2 separate regions of the Homo sapiens genome follow, and region 1 is linked to region 2. Evidence: promoter capture Hi-C in 16 types of primary human blood cells and fetal thymus (Javierre and others, 2016). All regions are on one chromosome and are shown on one strand. Each heading gives the region's core, a stretch centred on a gene start or on the middle of the fragment in contact. The rest is flanking DNA. Distances are from core to core; before and after follow the strand shown. Region 1 overlaps LOC107985745 (a long non-coding RNA gene). Region 2 holds the start of F5 (coagulation factor V).

Evidence for each region. The method cuts DNA at HindIII sites, captures the fragments that hold promoters and counts their contacts. A CHiCAGO score of 5 or more calls a contact.
Region 1: a fragment that was not itself captured here is called in contact with the fragment with the promoter of F5 in region 2 in 1 of 17 cell types (neutrophils); the score reaches 7.3 in neutrophils.

The regions. Positions count from the first base shown.
Region 1 is chr1:169,673,341-169,677,190 of GRCh38, forward strand. All of the region lies in intron 1 of LOC107985745 (a long non-coding RNA gene), which reads left to right. Among named protein-coding and RNA genes, the nearest start is that of SELL, 36 kb to the right of the region's middle. The HindIII fragment of the contact is 7,849 bases long and covers 1-3,850 here.
Region 2 is chr1:169,585,147-169,588,712 of GRCh38, forward strand. F5 (coagulation factor V) reads right to left here and starts at 1,335. Exons shown (of 25, transcript NM_000130.5): 1 at 1,083-1,335. The coding sequence starts at 1,240. RefSeq lists enhancers at 809-1,310, 1,311-1,810. The HindIII fragment of the contact is 11,391 bases long and covers 1-3,566 here.

The sequences.
Region 1 (3,850 bases), core at 557-3,056, 89 kb after region 2:
CATGCATGCATATGTTCATTACAGCACTATTTACGATAGCAAAGACATGGAATCGTCTAAATGCCCATCAGTGGTAGACTAGCTAAAAAAAAAAAAATGTGGTACATATACATCACAGAATAGTATGCAGCCATAAAAATGAACAAGATCATCATGTCCTTTGCAGCAACATGGATGTAGTTGGAGGCCATTATCCTAAGCAAATTAATGCAGGAACAGAAAGCCAAATACCACATGTTCTCATTTATAAGTGACAGCTAAATATTGAGTACACATGGACACAAAGAAGGGAACAATAGACATGGGACCTACTTGAGAATAGAGGGTGGGAGGAGGGTGAGGATCAAAAAGTACCCATAGGACACTGTGCTTATTACCTGGGTGATGAAATAATTTGCACACCAAACCCCTGTGACACACAATTTACCTATATAGAAAACCTGTGCATGTACCCCTGAACCTAAAAGTTAATGGTGGGGGGGTGGGGTTAAGCTACTTTGTGGTATAAATCTGAGCATTCATATTAAAATAAAATATTTACCTCATTAGAGTAATTAACATTTATTAAGCAAAGAGCCAAGTACCTTACACACATGATGTTTAATCTCACAATGATCTTTAATCTCATAACAACCGTCCATTGTATGTACATATGTGGAAATTGAGCCTTGGAGAGATTAAATGCATGGGGCATGCCATTTGACTAGAAACTGGAAGCATCAGGATTTAAACTCAGTTCTGAATGGTTTTGTAGGCTTTGTTTTTTCCACATTATAGCATGGCCTGCCATGAAGAACAGGTCCTTTCTGGTGTTTGTCTTGTTTGGTTTAAGTGAAGCAAATATTTATTTAAATATTCAAGATATGCTGTTAAATTTTTACTCAAAAATTTGAGTACAGTATGGATCTTCTGAAGCCAAATAACTCTTATTCAATGCTTAGTTGAGAAATTTTATGGAGTAGTTCTCAATTTTTATGTAGTTCCACTGCAAAGGTAAGTCTTATGGAAAGATTCACTGTAATTTTTTTTCCTCATTTGGACATCAGCTTTTTCTTTTCCTCAGACCCGCTGAAAGATAATTTTTAAAATAAAAACCTTGTTTTTATATCAAGTGGGGACATTTTTTCCAAATGAAAACCGTGTATTCATTTTATATGATAAAATCAATGTTATTATTTTTAAAATTTTGATTTAAAAATCATTAAAAATAAATTTTCAGATATTACCTGAAATTCTACCATCCAGAGATAATAGTGCTTAAAGATTTGATATATAGACACACACACATATATACATATATATCATCCTAAACTTCTTTGTATAAATGTATATAAAGTTTTTAATAAAAACTAGGAGATTAATGCCCTTTGAATGAAAATAAATACAATGTGTATGCTTTAACATCTTGCCTTTACTTTATAACATTTATCACAGCAGTCATGAGATAATGATTTACATGGTCATTGTTAGTAAGCTAATAGCTAAGTGCATGAACTCTGGAGCTAGCCTCCCTGGATTTTAATCCCAGATCTGTCACTGACCAGCTGAGCAATACTAGGTAAATTGCTCTTGTTCCTTAGTTTCTTCATCTGTAAAATAGAGATAAAAATAATATCCACCTCATAGGATTGGTGTGAGCATTAAATGAGCATACGTATGTAGGCCACTTAACAACAATGCCTTCACATACTGAACACAAATATACGAGCTGTTGTCTTATTGGGCTCATGTTTTTCCTACCACTAAGCCGCATGCATGCAAGGACCATGTTGGTTTTGTTCCACATTGCATCCCCAACCTGGTATACAGTGTGCATTCAATAGTTGTTGACTATTATTACTAGTGGCATTTAACAAATATCTGTTAAATGAGTGAAGAAATACCCATTTACTGCAAGTGTGTCTAATATTGATGGCATAATGGGGGAAACTCAAACTCTGGAGTCAAACAGGTTTTAAAACCTTATTCCCTCATCCTCAGTTATTGACGTTTTTTTTTTGGCAGGTGTGTGTGTGGGACAACTTATTGAACTTTTCTGAATTTCCAGCTTCGCATATATAAAATAGAGATAGTGATTCATTCTTGCAATGTATGGATTTGAGACAATTGTGTAAGTTTATCAATAAATAGTAGCTATTTTTGTATAAGTATTACATATAATATCCAGGCCACTGCTTTGCATAACCCAAAAGGGGCACCATTCATGCAGAATACAACATAAATGGTGTCCCTGGAGCAGTGCAGTATAGGAACCCTGAGGGGACCTACAGTATACTTTATAGTTCATAGATTACAAATTATCCCTTTATCAGAGTCTCTCAAGGTTGGATGTATTTGAGGTCCATAAGAGCAATTTAGGATTAACAGTAGCTGCAGAAACCATCTGCAGTGATATTCTCATTTTAAATCCGCGGGAAAGAAGACAGCTATAAACTTGGGACCTGGGTTTAAGCATTTTAAATGCCAAGTTCACCATTTTCTAAAACACAACAAATACCCAGTGAGAGAGGGAGAAGGGAAGTAAATGCCTCTGAATAAGCAAGTTAATGTCAGTAGTTGTACTGTATGCATATTGATGAACAATAGAGGAACCAATGTCCAATCAGATGAGCAGGATATTTGGCAATAACAAGTTGCCTTTGAGGAAAAATGATTTTCTTGGCAAGTTCTTTATCAGCATTACAAAGCTAAAAGCTACGCTTATCATCACTTATACTAGCATACCCTGTTGTGCAAATGCTGTCTGTGTTTGCATCTGCTATTGTTGATGCCTGGTGCATGAATCAGGACTCCAGCCCACAAGTTTTCCCAGAACTTTCTTATGGCCATCATCTTTAAGTGTCTGGTGAACAGTCATAGTTTGGTACACAAAAGGGTCAACCTGGGGGATGGCTAGGGTTTGACTCAGTCGTTACATTTCAATAGAGCAGGAAGGGGAAATGGTGGCCTGTAACCTCAGGGAATTTTGCCAGTTGGTCCACCCCACTCTCTCTCTCCTGCTCTGAGGAAGTGGCACAGCCTAGAACAGCACCACAGGTGAGAGAAATGCAAACCCTAACCAGAGAAGCAGACTCTTTGCCAGTAGTAATAGTTCAGGACCACCACCAGCTTTTATTAAAATTTTTAATAACACTCAAGTATTGGCAGAAAGAAATAATCTTGGGTTAACTATAACTAGAATATTGACTCTTCCTCTGTGGAAGAATCAGCCAATCACATTTGTTTACATCAGTTCCCCTGAAGAAGAAAAATACACTGATGTTGCAGCAAGACAAATTTAAGCTAGATGTAAATAACTTCCTTTAGCCTGTAATGCTAGGCTAATTACATATTGGAACTATTTTTTCAGGGAAGAATTGTGTAGGGTTTCAGGGAAGAATTCTGAAGAAAATATAGAGCTGAAATGATCTTGCAGCTCACTGAAACTGCAGGGTTTAGATCCACACTGATACTCGTTCTATTATCACTGTAATGAAGGCTGATGGAATAAGTAAAAATGTTTTGTATTAGTATGTTTTTACACTTATTTGCAAGGCATAAATAGGTTAGGTTTTGATCTTAATTTAATTCTAACATGTATTGTGCACAAGCTGTGAGCAGTTTTCAGGAGTTAGGTATCTGGCCATGACTGATTTTTCAGGAGTTAATCATCTGGTAGAAGGGTCATACACAATAGGAAGATGTGTGTGACAGGTTGTGATCATTACTATAATCACACAGAGAGCTGTAGAATTTTAGGCTGGCAGGGTGGCTCACGCCTGTAATCCCAGCACTTTGGGAGGCCAAGGCAGGCGGATCAAGAGGTCAGGAGATGGAGACCATCCTGGCTAACACGGTGAAACCCCGTCTG
Region 2 (3,566 bases), core at 85-2,584:
ATTATCACTTTGAAGTACGATATTTAAAATGATTATTTTTGAGAAGGAGGGATCTCTTCTTATTATAAGACCAAGATGGTATGTAATACCCTCCAAAATAACCCAGTTACAATGAGAGTTTTAAAAAGGTTAATATTATACACTAAAAGATCTCAAAATATTACATTATTTTTTGGCAGATTACTTTGGTTTTGTAATTGTAAAAGAGGAACACATCTTTCATAATGAAGTGTGATGTAAGGAAAAAAAGTGAGTCACACTAGCAGGTTTACCATTTAAAAAATAACTAACTGGAAATATTGAATAGACTGTATGATTTAGTTAATTTCTGAGAAGTCTTATTTTTAACATTTCAATTAGAAAAAATAGTTTGCAACTCAAGGATAGTATTTTATCTGAATTAAACCTCCTCTCAGTTACATATGCCTTTAAGTAGCCAAGGTAAACCATATCCCAGGACATGATGAACAGAGAGAAAAAAAAATGAAGAGTCACATTCAATAGGATAAATAAGTCAAATATGAAGCAGAAAAAAGGTGAAAGTACAAAAACATACAAGAACTGATGATATTTTGAAAGTCATTTATAAGGCAGCAATAAAATTATATGACAAAAAGCACAAGGTGTTCATTTTTAGTTTTAGAAGATGAAGCTATGTAGACAATGGAATAAATAATATGTAACTAGGAGTCTCATAAAAATACTATACAACTAAAAATCTGGAACAGGAGTTTGCAGGAAGGGCTAATGAGGGAGCAAGTGCCTGGTGCCTTTGAATTAACCAATATATAAGCCAACACAAACATACTAACAAAACTGTATTGAAAATAAACTTGAAAAGAAGGTAGCATCTAACCAATCAAATAGGGTGCTTTCTAAACCCTCAGAATGATAAACTACATTGTTGGATGCAAAATTAGCATTTGCCCAGTTTATTTAATTCAGTATACTCTCCTATTAGTTATATTTACTTACCTGAAGTTAAAAAAAAAAAAAGCCATGACATTGCAAAGGGAATGTTCTCTAAAAGAAATAGATTTTCCTCTCTAGAGAAGCCCACCCGGACTCCACACCTGAGTTACCTTGAGTTTGTGGGCTCAGGTCGGTAGCTCCAACTGATGCCCTGAGCAGCCACGTAGAACTGCCTTAGCTGTGCCGCTTCTGTCCCTTGGCTCCCCCAGCCTACCCAGCTGGTGCCCAAGACCACCAGGACCCAGAGGCGTGGGCAGCCTGGGAACATGCTTCCTTTCCTGCTCCCGCTGGCTGCCACCACCCCAGGACCTGGGCAGCGCTTGCCGAGCTGCTAACCACACTCCGGGCTGTCCCAGCTGCAATGAGCTCTAGAGGCTGTGGGTGGCAGCGTCCTCCTCCCCTGCAGTTCTTGCAAACGGCAGCAGCAGCCTCTGGCTCTCACTCCCTCCGCTTTTTCTGGGGCTTTTCCTGGCAGGGGTTTGGTGAGATCACAGCTCCCAGTGACCAGAGGTATTAGGGAGAGCAACCAAACTAGTGACTGTTTTACTGCAGGTGAAGAAGGGGCAGAGATCAGAGGCTCTAGCAGGCGGGACAATGCCCAGGGATTCATGAGCCGGACAAAGCTGTATCCCTCCATTTCCACCTGCCAACACCACGGAAGCAGTCGTCCGTTACCACTGACCTGAGGCCTGCCTGGGTCCAAGCTCACACTTGGAGAACCTTCTGTGCAGTGCAGTGGCACCCAACCACCTTAAGCAGATGGCTCCCCTTTTAATCTGAGGAAAAGAGTATTGTGCCCTGTTACTGGGCACTGAAACACTATTTTCAAGTGGTGAAGAAGCAGGGAACAAACACATGGACAAGGCCTACTGCTCTGAATCGCCTTCCTGGCCTCTATCAAGGCACAGTTCTGCCTTGATAAGGGCCTGTCGCCAGCTAAGCTGCAGCATAGCAGCGGGCTTGAAGAGCTTGGCTGAAAAAAATCAGTTGTCCAGATTTCAGTTTCACTTACTAGCTGTGTTGTCTTGGGCAAGTTACTGTACCTCTCTGTTCAGTTTTGACATCTGTGAAATAAGGATGACAATAATAATTTTTCCTGATAGGGTATGTTGGGAGGATAAAATGCTACTGTAAACTATAGTTCCAGCACTTAACACACAGAGGCTAGGCGCAGTGGCTCACGCCTGTAATCCCAGTACTTTGGGAGGCCAAGGCGGGTGAATCACCTGAGGTCAGGAGTTCAAGACCAGCCTGGCCAACATGGTGAAACCCTTCTCTACTAAAAATATAAAAAATTAGCCGGGCGTTGTGGTGGACACCTGTAATCCCACCTACTCGAGAGATTGAGGCAAGAGAATTGCTTGAACCTGGAAGGTGGAGTTTGCAGTGAGCTGATATCATGCCATTTTACTCCAGCCTGGGCAACGAGAGCAAAACTCCATCAAAAAAAAAAAAGAAAGAAAGAAAAAGAAAGAAAGAGAAAAAGAGAGAAAGAAGGAATCACAAATTTATTATTATGATCATATTTTCCTGTCTCCAGGACCCCTTGTATTCTTGTTTTTCTTGAAGGATCTGACTGTTTCACAGCACCTTAAATCTTACTTTGCTATTGATAGAGAATCTGCGAATTATATTGTCTGAGGCATCATAATGACTTGTCCTGGGTTCCCTGTATCTGCATGGCTCCAGGTTTCTGTCTTATGCTTTATGCATTCAGTACATTCAATAAATTGTAATCTGGCACCTCACATGAGGTCTCTGTTAATGATATCAGGCTCATCAACAGCCTCTTCCTCCCTCCCCACTCCCCCCAATATTCTGTCTTTTCTCCTGTGCTGATATTATTGCACCAACTTAGAATGCCCATTTTCTTCCTCTTTGCTGGGCCATTCTTTACAGTCCAGAGTTCTGCCTATCTCCCAGATTCTGGGCTCAAATTGGCTTTTCCATTTTATGAACTATTACAACACTATTCAAATTATATAATCATGTTAATTACCTTTTGTTATTCCATGCAGGTATCTATTGTCTCCCTAACTGAACAGTTGCTTACACTTCTTTATCTACAATATTATCAGTGTCTCCCAAAGTTGGCAGACCATCAGAATTCCCAGGGGAACTTTTACAAAATGTAGATTCTGACTCAGGAAACAGGGTTGAGACCAAAGTCCTAGAACACCTAGCCTACTGATTGACATTTAAATAAGCAGTCAGAGATGCTACTGGCAGTGTATCAGAGAAACGTTTTGAAAGCACTGTGTCCCTAAATCCCAAGGTTACTACCAGAATTGTTGCAACATTATTGTAACCTTTGAGTAGGCTGCTTTTTTATTTGCATGTTTGCTTATGTATATACAGTGTACATGACATATTTATTTAATTACATTTTACAGAGACAAGATGACTACTATAATTTTTGGCTCTCTATTTTTTTTAACATCAGTTCCAGATAAATACTATATAACTTTCAATGACCTATTTATTAAACATGGGATTTAAAGAACATGTAAAACACATTTGTTCTTCCCTGTAAAATATTAAGGTGATGAAGAATTTTTCCATTTCTCTGATTTTCTCTTGCAGTGTAGGGTGTG